2 separate regions of the Homo sapiens genome follow, and region 2 is linked to region 1. Evidence: promoter capture Hi-C in human tissues and cell types (Jung and others, 2019). All regions are on one chromosome and are shown on one strand. The core of a region is centred on a gene start or on the middle of the fragment in contact, and the rest is flanking DNA. Distances in the headings are between cores, read along the strand shown. Region 1 holds the start of NTN3 (netrin 3). Region 2 overlaps TBC1D24 (TBC1 domain family member 24).

Region 1 (6,507 bases), core at 1,628-4,127:
GCAGAGCGGCCTGGCTGGGCAGCGGTCTGCGAGGCTGGGGGATCGACCCGGCGCGAGGGTGCTGGGTGCAGGGCAGCGCGACGCGGGCTCGGCCACACCACCCGCCGTTGGGAGCCGGCGCTGTGTCTGCTCCTGGGCTGTCTGCCTTCGGAGCTCGGTTGGAAACCCCCCGAGGCATAATAGGCGCTCGATAAATGTGCAATAGGTGAACATGTGGTGGCTTGCAGGCGTCTGGGGGGAGACAGCAGGTTCTGGGCTGGGCAGGGAATTATTGGATCAACGGGCATCTTACAGGAAAGACTCTCAGCTCCCTGCCGCCTAGGACTGTCCAGCCCATCTATGCCCTCTCCCCAGCCTGTGCCCCAAAGCTGGAGCTGCCACTCTAGGGGTGAGGGGTGGGGTGGGGAGGGGGAGGCGAAGCACTGCGGCCTGAGTTGCAGGTGGGGGGAGGGGAGGCGGAGCTTCTTTGTTGCAGAAGGTGCCAGGAGGGGGCAGGGCCAGTGGAGAGGTGGGAGGTGGGAGAGGCCCCAGCCAGGGGCTGGGACAGGTGGCTGGGTCCCTGGGGAGCAATAAGTCCCGCTTGGGCGCTGTGGGGAGGCCCTTCCTAACTCCCAAACACCATCTGTGAGGGCTGGGGGTGGGGGCAGAGTAGCGTGTGCAGAGGACTGTTCCTGGGGAGAGGCCCTGTGACCAGCGGCCTCCTCCCTGGGGAGCTGGCGGTACAATGGCCCTCTGGGCCCACGGCCTCCCGCCGCTGCTGCTGACCCAGATGAACAATTGGGGCAGGGCTGAGCCCCAGGCACCTACTTTCCCCCACCCCAGAAGCCACCAGACGTTCTGCAGACCCCAGTCCTGGCTCACAGGGAAGCTGAGCTGGAGACAAAGCCAGCCCCTCTGATGAGGGTGGAAGAGGCTGCTGGCCACTGTCCCTCTTGCAGCCTGGCTGGCAGCCAGTCTGGCAGTGGCCCTGACGTCCAGAGACAGCTTGGGTTTCCCCAGAGGCTTGTCTCTGGCCAGTGGGACCCCTCTGTCAGGCCTGGGCTTTTCTCTCCACTGTCCCAGAATGATGATCTCAGCCCCCATAGTCCCCCCAGGGTTCCTCCCACCCTTAGGGTGGGGTGTCGGGGGGTGGGGGTTGGGAGCCAGAAGGACCTTGAAGAGGGTGGTTGGGACGTTTCAGGTTCTAAGCTTGACCCACAGAGCGGAGCGTGAGCCCCGTCAGGTTGAGGTCCCTCAACTTGTAAAGGACACAATTCCCATTCTCTTTATCAGGAAGCTGAGGGGCAGGGGCCCTGTGGCAGAGAGAGAGCCCCTTAGCCCTCTCTGTTCAGTCCTCCGGTGCCCCCATCCCTGTGCATCTGTGGCTGTCACATGCAGATGTGTGGCAAGGAGAAGGTGCCCACCAGCCAGTGTCAGTTGCTCCAGGAGCCAAGCCAGGTGCCCTATCACCCTGTCTTCCCGTTCCTCCCCTCCATGGTCAGGCCCTCCTGCTCCCTCCTCTGGTCCTTCAGTTTCCCCTAGGAGGCTTCCGTGTCCTCCTGCCCCTCCTCTCCCCAACAGCGGGATGCGTCTACCTCTCCATTCTCTTCCTCCTGGTCCTTGCTCATCTCTGGTCGTGTCCAGGGTAGCACCCACGTGGCCTCCTCCACCAGCTGCAGGCCTGGCCTCCCATCTGAAACGGGGCATTCAGGCCTCGATGCTGGCCCTGCACGGAACTTGTTCCCTGCCCCTCCCTGGGATGCTTGGCCTCCTCTGTCAAGGACCTGAAAGTCGGAGGGGAGGAGGTTTCTCTGACCAGAGCTGTTCCTGGACCCTCTTTGGTGGTGTCGCTCCCAGGCACAGCTACCCCATCCCCAGCTAGTCCCCAGGCCACCCAGCTGGGCTTCTGCCTCAGTTTCCCTGCCCAAACGTGCTGTGACGTAGGGCAGTGGGCTCCGGGTTGCGACCAGCCCCTTCCCATGATTAAACCCTACTCCCTGCCCCTGCAGAGGGGTCCTCAACAGCTAACCAAGCCCCCGAACCCCAAGAAGCCACCCCATCCCACCCTCCAGCTTCCATGTCCTCCCTGCCAGCTGGGCCCGTGGCAGAGGTGCCCCTAGAAACTTGCAGACCCAGGGAGCTTTGGGATCAGAATCTGGCCTGGTGCAGGGGATGCTGGCCTCATGTCTTAGCCCAGCTCAGGCCCATGGGGGTGCCCCCCTTCCTCAACATGGGCAGGAGACACTCCAATTTGTGCAGCTCTCGACTTGGGCCTGATGCCACTTGAGACTCATCAAATCCAACAGCTTCAGAGCGCGTGCTGAGTAACAGGCATCTGGCAGGTGAGGAAACAGGAGCCCAAGACATGCAGCCAGAAATGGGGCAGTTGGATTCAAAATTAGACCTGACCGAATCCTGGGTTCCTTCTACTCGAGTAGATGCTGCTTTGGGGATGACCCTTCAACTGGTGGTTACTTGGCTTCCCTACCTGGGGAACATCCAGGGCCTCTGCTGTCAGACCCGGGGCCTTGCCTGCCTGATGGTCTTCAGGGAGGAGGCGACCCAGACCCCCGTCCAGCACGTGGCACAGCCCCAGGAGCAGTAAAGACCTGGCTGTGGGCCCAGGACCCTGCTGGGTGGTCCCCCACGGGCTGCGAAGGCTGAGCTGCCCCCCTCCAGACCCCTCCCGCCAGCGCATTCCTGGCTCCCCGGCCCCTCCCCTGGCTCCCGGGCCTCCCAGCCCCCTTCCCCGCTGGCCCAGCCCGCGTCTGAATCTGCTTCTGATTCCAGCTCTGCGATGAGGCCCCCTCCCCTCCCCTGCCTCCTTCCCGACCCGAGCAGCCCCGCCCCCGGCTGGGCCCGGGCTTGCGCCTGCTGCGCCCCCCACCCCCTCCTGGCACAGCTCGTCCGCCCTCGCTGCAGCCGGGAGGAGGCGGCGGCCCGTGCACCGCAGGCCCCGCCCGCCCACGGCCCTTCCCGGGAGGCCGGGAGACCTGCTCCGCCCGGCCCTCGGTGGGTGAGTGCGAGCGGCGGGTGGGGCCTCCGCGGGCGGAGGCACCGGGAGCGGGGGCGACGCCTGTCATCGCTCTAGGCCCAGCGGGAGGACGCGCCAACATCCCCGCTGCTGTGCTGGGCCCGGGGCGTGCCCGCCGCTGCTCCCACCTCTGGGCCGGGCTGGGGCCGCCCGGGGGCCCTGTTCCTCGGCATTGCGGGCCTGGTGGGCAGAGCCGCGGAGAGGGCTTCTTTTCCCCAAGGGCAGCGTCTTGGGGCCCGGCCACTGGCTGACCCGCAGCGGCTCCGGCCATGCCTGGCTGGCCCTGGGGGCTGCTGCTGACGGCAGGCACGCTCTTCGCCGCCCTGAGTCCTGGGCCGCCGGCGCCCGCCGACCCCTGCCACGATGAGGGGGGTGCGCCCCGCGGCTGCGTGCCAGGACTGGTGAACGCCGCCCTGGGCCGCGAGGTGCTGGCTTCCAGCACGTGCGGGCGGCCGGCCACTCGGGCCTGCGACGCCTCCGACCCGCGACGGGCACACTCCCCCGCCCTCCTTACTTCCCCAGGGGGCACGGCCAGCCCTCTGTGCTGGCGCTCGGAGTCCCTGCCTCGGGCGCCCCTCAACGTGACTCTCACGGTGCCCCTGGGCAAGGCTTTTGAGCTGGTCTTCGTGAGCCTGCGCTTCTGCTCAGCTCCCCCAGCCTCCGTGGCCCTGCTCAAGTCTCAGGACCATGGCCGCAGCTGGGCCCCGCTGGGCTTCTTCTCCTCCCACTGTGACCTGGACTATGGCCGTCTGCCTGCCCCTGCCAATGGCCCAGCTGGCCCAGGGCCTGAGGCCCTGTGCTTCCCCGCACCCCTGGCCCAGCCTGATGGCAGCGGCCTTCTGGCCTTCAGCATGCAGGACAGCAGCCCCCCAGGCCTGGACCTGGACAGCAGCCCAGTGCTCCAAGACTGGGTGACCGCCACCGACGTCCGTGTAGTGCTCACAAGGCCTAGCACGGCAGGTGACCCCAGGGACATGGAGGCCGTCGTCCCTTACTCCTACGCAGCCACCGACCTCCAGGTGGGCGGGCGCTGCAAGTGCAATGGACATGCCTCACGGTGCCTGCTGGACACACAGGGCCACCTGATCTGCGACTGTCGGCATGGCACCGAGGGCCCTGACTGCGGCCGCTGCAAGCCCTTCTACTGCGACAGGCCATGGCAGCGGGCCACTGCCCGGGAATCCCACGCCTGCCTCGGTGAGGCCTTGGAGGGTGGCCTGGGGACCTTGGACACAACCAGCCTGCCCCTGACCCATCCCTCCCTGCAGCTTGCTCCTGCAACGGCCATGCCCGCCGCTGCCGCTTCAACATGGAGCTGTACCGACTGTCCGGCCGCCGCAGCGGGGGTGTCTGTCTCAACTGCCGGCACAACACCGCCGGCCGCCACTGCCACTACTGCCGGGAGGGCTTCTATCGAGACCCTGGCCGTGCCCTGAGTGACCGTCGGGCTTGCAGGGGTGAGCCACCACCGGCCACCTGCAGGCCCTCACCCTCTGACTTCCCAGATCCCCAGACAGGCTTCTGACCAGGCCCTTCCCACCTCTGTCCTCAGCCTGCGACTGTCACCCGGTTGGTGCTGCTGGCAAGACCTGCAACCAGACCACAGGCCAGTGTCCCTGCAAGGATGGCGTCACTGGCCTCACCTGCAACCGCTGCGCGCCTGGCTTCCAGCAAAGCCGCTCCCCAGTGGCGCCCTGTGTTAGTGAGTGACCCTGCCCCGCCTCAGCCACCAAGCCAAGGCCACCCCAGCTCCCTGCTGTTGTCCCGTCTATTCCCCGAGCCCTGCAGATCTCTCTGCCCCTCCATCGCAGGCCATTCTCCCTCCCTCTCTGCAGAGACCCCTATCCCTGGACCCACTGAGGACAGCAGCCCTGTGCAGCCCCAGGGTGAGTGGACACAGGACAGGGCCCCAGACTGGCATGACTTTGGGGGAGGGGGCTCTGGGAGGAGAGGGTGGGGAAAGGGAGTCTGTGCCAGCCTCCCACCTTCTACCCAGACTGTGACTCGCACTGCAAACCTGCCCGTGGCAGCTACCGCATCAGCCTAAAGAAGTTCTGCAAGAAGGACTATGGTAGGTGCCCTCAGGCCTCCCGCGGACCTTCCCACCTTCCTCCTCTCCCTACCTTCCCTCCTCCGCCAGCTTCCCCTTGGAACGCCTTGACCCTTGCTGGGCCCCAAGGCCCATCCTCATCCCTCAGGTCCTCCACGGGCAGCGACCCCGCCCCTTCAGCCCCCACTGCCCTCCTGGTGTCCTCCCCGTGCCTCCCCCTACCGCGGGCAGGCCGCCCCTTCCTGACCCCGCCCCCTCTCGCTCTCCCCGCAGCGGTGCAGGTGGCGGTGGGTGCGCGCGGCGAGGCGCGCGGCGCGTGGACACGCTTCCCGGTGGCGGTGCTCGCCGTGTTCCGGAGCGGAGAGGAGCGCGCGCGGCGCGGGAGTAGCGCGCTGTGGGTGCCCGCCGGGGATGCGGCCTGCGGCTGCCCGCGCCTGCTCCCCGGCCGCCGCTACCTCCTGCTGGGGGGCGGGCCTGGAGCCGCGGCTGGGGGCGCGGGGGGCCGGGGGCCCGGGCTCATCGCCGCCCGCGGAAGCCTCGTGCTACCCTGGAGGGACGCGTGGACGCGGCGCCTGCGGAGGCTGCAGCGACGCGAACGGCGGGGGCGCTGCAGCGCCGCCTGAGCCCGCCGGCTGGGCAGGGCGGCCGCTGCTCCCACATCTAGGCGCACGTTCACCCTGTGCCTTCGCCTGCCAAGGAGTCCTTGCTCGCGTCGCGCGTGTCGCCACCTGGGCCGCCGCCCCGTCCCCGCCGGCAGCTCCCTCGGTACCTCCCGTCTGGCCCTGGGGGGATGTGACCGGCGCAGCGACAGCCCGCCCCGCACAGAGGCAGATGATATGGCACACCCGGAGGACCCCATGGTCTCCCGCCCTCTGGCTGTCGGCCCTGTCCCAGGGGCACTGGGATACCCGGAAGGCTGTGAATCCTTCGTGATGCCGGGCCCTCTCGGGGATCTCAGATCATCCCCGGGGCCGCTGTGATGCACCCCCACCTGTGCGGCGACCCGCCAGGGAGCGCACTGACCTCCCCAAAGACTGTGGCCACCGCAGGCGCCTTGGACCCCCATGGGGGGACAGGGCGTCCCCTGCCTCCTGCAGCCCCACGAGGGCGGCGGCCTTGGCCCCTGCGGGCTGGGCGTCCGCGTCCGGGCGCCCCGCGGCGTCTGCTGCCGGGTCCCGTAACTTTCTTGGCCGCCTGTGTCCCCGTCTGCCGGCTCCGTCCGGCCGTCCCTCTCTCTGCCGCGTCTCTGACCCTCGGCGCCACAGCTCCTCAGCTCAGGGCCCGTCCCAGAACCTCCTTCCAGCCCTTCTCCCCCGACTCGGGAAGGGACGTCGTGCCCACGCGGTTCCGGATCCACGCGTGACCCGGCCGGACCGCGACTCCGACAGGCGGCTGTCCGGGCCCCCGATGCCCTCGGCAGGGCCGTGCCACCCCCCGCCCCCCT
Region 2 (5,693 bases), core at 2,977-5,476, 35 kb after region 1:
TGCGCTGGCCAGACGCAGGTAGGTGCCAGGGGAGGCCTTGCCTCTGGGCACTATAGGGGGCAGCCCCCTGCCTTGTGACCTCCCTCCATGCCCCATGACCTCCTTCAACTCGTCTTGAGGGTCTGGTCACCACGGAGGGGAGAAGGGAGACACAGAGGCCCAAGTGGCTGTTCTGGGACCATGGAAGCCTGGGTCACAGAGGCAGGTACCAGCAGTCCTGCCCCCACCCCCGTCCCTGCTGGCCTCCAGCCAGTGCCACTTGGAGTCCCCTGCACCGTGCCACTTTCCATCCCCACACCATTGCCTGCTCCTCCCATGGGGCTTTAGCCTCCCCTGACCATCTGCTCATGTAGCCTCTGACTGGGCGCACAGTGGTGCAGGAGGAAGGACCGGGAACCCTGTGTGGCTTTGGGCAAGCTGACAAACCCGTCTGGAACTCAGTTTCCCCAGCTGTGAAATGGGGCCAGTCCCCATGCCCTGCTGTCCTCCTCACAGGACTGTTGAGAGGCTCGCAGGGGGATGGGGTGAATCCCTCTCACGGGGAGAGGTATGGGAGGGAAGTCGCCACTCATCTCAGCCCACCGCAGCCCTCCAGGCCCCCGCCTGAGCCCCTGAGGCCCTCATCTGTACCGCCAGCTTTGGTGTTCATTAAACATGGTCTTGCTGCATCAACTCCAGGGCTCCAAGCTGAGTCTGATCTCTTCAGCCAGAGGGGCCTCCGGGGGCTTCCTGGGCCTACAGCCAAGCAGGTGTGGGAGGCTGCCCGCTGTAGTGCTCACCCACATTCTATGACTGGAATGCTGCAAGCCTCTTCCAGAGGGAGCCCTCCAGGAGCAGGGAAGTCATATCCGTGGACCATTTGTAGGTTTCCCTCTGCAAACTTCCTGAACTGGGTGGTGATTTTTCTGGCGAGTTAAGTCCAGCAGGTTCTGCGTGGCTGCCCCCAGGGGGCCCCACCCGGGCCTTCCAGTGATCTGGACCAGGAAGACGGATTGCTGCTGGGTCATGATTTCCACATCATGAGCGAAGTTCTTTGTTTTTTGTGTGCATGCAAAATATTGTTTCTTTAAATTTAATATCTTTTCCTAACTTTTCTACTAACCTAGAAGGTATGTGTGATTATTATCTTTTTTATTCTTATCACTGTACTTGTTAGTATCTGATATTAGGTATTCCCAAATAGAACATAATTTATTTTGTTAATGTTCTCTATTTCTTCTTGATTATTTATTAGCTTTGGATGTTAAAAATTAGCCAAAAGTGGCTGCTCTGCCTATGAAGTAGCCATTCTTTGTTTAAAAAAAAAAAAAGCCAACATTTGTTGAAACTGCATAATAAATTATCATTTGTTTTTAGAAACATTCAAAGAATTATTTTTTGATTTTTTTTTTTTTTGGGACAGAGTCACCCAGGCTGGAGTGCAGTGGCATGATCTTGGCTCACTGCAACCTCCGCCTCCTGGGTTCAAGCGATTCTCCTGCCTCAGCCTCCTGAGTAGCTGGGATTACAGGCATACGCCACCACGCCCAGCTAAATTTTTTTTGTATTTTTAGTAGAGGCAGGGTTTCACTGTGTTGGTCAGGCTGGTCTTGAACTCCTGACCTCGTGATCCACCCCCCCCTCAGCCTCCCAAAGTGCTGGGATTACAGGCGTGAGCCACCGCGCCTAGCCTATTTTTTAATTTTTTTGAATAGACCACTTTGTGCTGAATAAATGTTTAACATTTATTTTTAAAACAACAATTGCACCTAATTTAAAATAGTTTATTAAATGAATTCATTAAAGCAGATTATATGCCTTTGGGGCTTCAGAAAATCAGTTTAAGCAAAAGAACTTATGAGAGTAAGTCATTTGTACTTGAATTTTTTCAGAGTTTTAATGAACTAAAGTATTTTAATTTTTCTATTTTTGTAAGCCGCATACTTCATTTTTTGAGTTTTTCAGTGGAATTTGTTTTAAAACGTTTTGAAGATTTCAGAGGCCTTCATATTTCTCTTATCCACTTTCTGAACCCATAAAGCCTTTGCAGTCTCCTTGAGTAGTTTATATTTAGTAATTTAGTTGTGTACCTTTTTATTTTGAAGTAATTTTTGATTTGCAGAAGAGTTGCAGAGACGGTACAGGGTTTCCATGTACCCTCACCTTCCCCCAAGTCAATATCAAAACAAAGAAATAAGCATTGTTGCATTGCTGTTAACTAAACCACAGGCCTATTGAGATTGTCCCTTTTTTTTTTTTTTTTTTTTTTGAGACAGAGTCTCGCTCTGTCGCCCAGGCTGGAGTGCAGTGGCGCGATCTCGGCTCACCGCAAGCCCCGCCTCCCGGATTCACGCCATTCTCCTGCCTCAGCCTCCTGAGTAGCTGGGACTACAGGCACCTGCTACCACACCCGGCTAATTTTTTTATATTTTTAGTAGAGATGGGGTTTCACCGTGTTAGCCAGGATGGTCTTGATCTCCTGACCTCGTGATCTGCCCTCCTCGGCCTCCCAAAGTGCTGGGATTACAGGCGTGAGCAACCGCGCCCAGCCGAGATTGCCCCGTTTTTTTCCCACTGTCCAGGAATCGATTTAATTTTTACAGTTGTTTACTTTCTCACATTTTTACTAAGTCCAGAATATCATCAAACTCACAAAACCACTGGTCAAAAAAACCCAAATGGCCACTAATTAGGCAATACAGCACCTGCCTCAAATTTGGGTTCATATAGATTTTTTTCCTCCCTTTTTGTGGAGAACATAGTCTTGCTGTGTTGCCCAGGCTAGTCTTGAACTCCTGGACTCAAGCAATCCTCCCGCCTCTGCCTCCCTAAATTCTGGGATTACAGGCGTGAGCTGCTGTGCCCAGCTCATCCAGATTCTTGCTGGTTCTCTTTCTCAGCCTAAATGTCTTGTTTGCGTGGAGAAATTATCAAATGAAGCAGGAGTGCCAAACAAGCCTCATAGGCTCTTCACCCTACAACATCTATGTTAGGTAGAAAAGTATGTGGATTTTTAAAAATCATCTGGTATAAAGAGTTTTTAAGAACTATCTTCATCATCTTAGTATCAGATTGTGCTTGAGAAGTTAGGTACAATGTAATGTGATTCATTGCTAAAAACAAAATGCCTCCCACAATTGCAGACTCACTCATTTTACCAAACTATGGAATTTGTCAACACCTTTTCTTGGGACCAAGGAAGCAAAGTCAGTGGATACCGTGTCCTGTAGACATGTCACTTGTGATAAGGCACGGACAACATGAACTGGCAAAAACATTGGCATTTGGTCAAATGCTTATGAGCTAAGGATAGAAGGGAAAAAATAGTTGTGTGAATGATTTTACCTCTTAGTTCTTACGAAGGATGGTTATCGGGCTGGAAAAATGTTTATTGGACTGATGCTTTGGAGCCTCTCAATGAATGTAATAAAAAAAATGTGTAGTGAGCACAAATGTATGGATTTGCAGCACAATCCAACTTTGAAAATGTGAAAATAAGTGAGTTAGTGATATGTTTGGTTGGTGTTAATTTGAGTCCTAAATAAAATCGAGAACTGGTAAAAGAAGGTCACTGTGAAATAACTTGCTATGAGAAGGCTTAGAGGGATGGGAAGTCCTGGACGCCTCTTCTCCAGGGTGTTGGAGGAGAGAGGGAGGCGCTAGGTTGACAAGACCGCATCTGCGCATTGTGGTCACCAGCGAGTCTCTCCACTGAGGCGACAGGTACATGTCTGTCGCATTTGCAGCCGTGGCCGGTGAGAACGGCAGCATTCCCTGATCCGTCTTGTTTTCTTTTGTTCCTAGTGCCTGCTGTGTGGACAGCTACACTCAGCAAAGTCTTAGGGAGACTTAGAGGAGTCACCATGAAGAATCAGTGTCAGACGTTTCATCAGGAATCCCTGTCAAGGCCGGGTGTGGTGGCTCACACCCGTAATCCCAAGACTTTAGGAGGCTGAGGTGGGTGGATTGTTTGAGGCCAGGAGTTTGAGAGCAGCCTGGGCAGCACAGGGAGACTCCATCTCCACAAAAAAATAGTGAAGAACCCCTGTCGTGTGTAAAACACGAGTATCAAAAAACAAACTCAACCTTTCTCATTCAAAATTTCAAAATGAGTATTTCCTTTGAAAGTTTGCGTCTCTCTCTCTCTCTCTCTCTCTCTCTCTCTCTATATATATATATATATATATATAATTTTTTTTTTTTTGAGATGGACTCTCACTCTGCCACCTAGGCTGGACTGCAGTGGTTCAATCTCGGCTCACTGCAAGCCCCACCTCCTGGGTTCACACCATTCTCCTGCCTCAGCCTCCCGAGTAGCTGGGACTACAGGCACCTGCCACCACGCCCGGCTAATTTTTTTGTATTTTTAGTAGAGACGGGGTTTCACCCTGTTAGCTAGGATGGAATTATCTCCTGACCTCGTGATCCACCCGCCTCGGCCTCGCAAAGTGCTGGGATTACAGGCGTGAGCCACCGCGCCTGGCCACGTCAATATTAATGAATGTCTTTTTTTTTGTTTGAGACGGAGTCTTGCTGTATCGCCCAGCCTGGAATGTGGTGGTGCGATCTTGGCTCACTGCAACTTCCAACTTCCAGGTTTGAGGTATCCTCCTGCCTCAGCCTCCTGAGTAGCTGGGATTACAGGCACCTGCCACCATGTCCGGCTAATTTTTGTATTTTCAGTAGAGACCGGATTTCACCATGTTGGCCGGGCTGGTCCCTAACTCCTGGCCTCAAGTTATCCGCCTGCCTCGGCCTCCCAAAGTGCTGGGATTATAGGGGTGAGCCACCGTGCCCGGCCACGTCTTTTTAGTACCTTGTGTTTAATTGTGGATCGGTATAATACAAAGAAAAATAGAATGCCTTTTTTCTTTTGAGCCCTGCACAGATGCCCCCTCCCTGTCCAGTTCCTCCAGTGAGACCGAGGCTGCTGGGGGCCCTCCCTGCAGCTGCTGTGGAGCCTCTGCCTGCCGTCACGTGAGCTGCCTCTGCCCACTCTATGCTCCTGGGTTCCTCTTCCCCAGACTGGCCACGGGGGTGGCCCCTTCCTGCCAAGCCCTCTTTCTTTGCTCCTCTGAACACCTTCCTTCAGTACCTTCAGGGGACTGTTGGGGCAGCACCTGTCCCGGGTCTGAGAGGCCTCCTGGTCTGCTAGCCTGGCAGGAAGCTTGGCCCCCAACACAGCCACAGGCTCTCTGGCACCAGGTTTCTTTCAGTTCCTCTGAACTGAAAGCCTCTGTTTCCCGGCCTTTGCGCGTGCTATTTGCCACTCCTCATGCCTGGGCCCTAGTGTCCCTCCCAGGATTTCCCTGAGCTCCCCGCTGAGGCCGGGTCCGCGTTCTAGCTTCACAGCACCTGAGACAGGTGTTGGCTGGTCTCCCCACCCCCTGTCCTAAAGACTGTCAGTCTCAAGGGGCAGGAGTGCCTAGCACTGCAGAATGAACTGAAGCCCCTGTGGGTTGGTGTGCGCTGCTGCTGTGCGTCCAGGGTGATCAGAGATTCTCCAGGTGTGCTCCTGGGGCCTGTGGTGGCGGGACACCCCCTTCCCACACCCGCCACGCTCCCTGCAGTAACTCTTGCACTTACTGTAAGTGCTCGGACTGTCTTGTGCTTGACATTAGGACACACACTCAGGCCAGAATTGGGCAAGATTGTCCCTGAGCGGGGCGTGCAGAGCGCTCTGGCCTGGGAGGTGGGGCGCAGGGCTGCTTCCT

The links. Contacts are between HindIII fragments. The study calls those that stand out against the background at their distance.
Region 2: a fragment that was not itself captured here is called in contact with the fragment with the promoter of NTN3 in region 1 in 1 of the 25 tissues and cell types used here (lymphoblastoid cells).

What each region holds. Positions count from the first base shown.
Region 1 is chr16:2,468,420-2,474,926 of GRCh38, forward strand. NTN3 (netrin 3) reads left to right here and starts at 2,878. Exons shown (of 6, transcript NM_006181.3): 1 at 2,878-4,210; 2 at 4,282-4,470; 3 at 4,566-4,715; 4 at 4,849-4,899; 5 at 5,010-5,084; 6 at 5,337-5,726. The coding sequence starts at 3,283. The coding sequence ends at 5,686. RefSeq lists enhancers at 200-743, 703-842, 1,003-1,082 and silencers at 3,016-3,155, 5,310-5,459, 5,530-5,589, 5,650-5,919, 6,320-6,507. The HindIII fragment of the contact is 12,116 bases long and covers 1-6,507 here.
Region 2 is chr16:2,502,189-2,507,881 of GRCh38, forward strand. TBC1D24 (TBC1 domain family member 24) reads left to right here. Exons shown (of 8, transcript NM_001199107.2): 8 at 1-3,542. Among named protein-coding and RNA genes, the nearest start is that of ATP6V0C, 8.9 kb to the right of the region's middle. RefSeq lists enhancers at 5,001-5,501, 5,502-5,693. The HindIII fragment of the contact is 3,777 bases long and covers 2,339-5,693 here.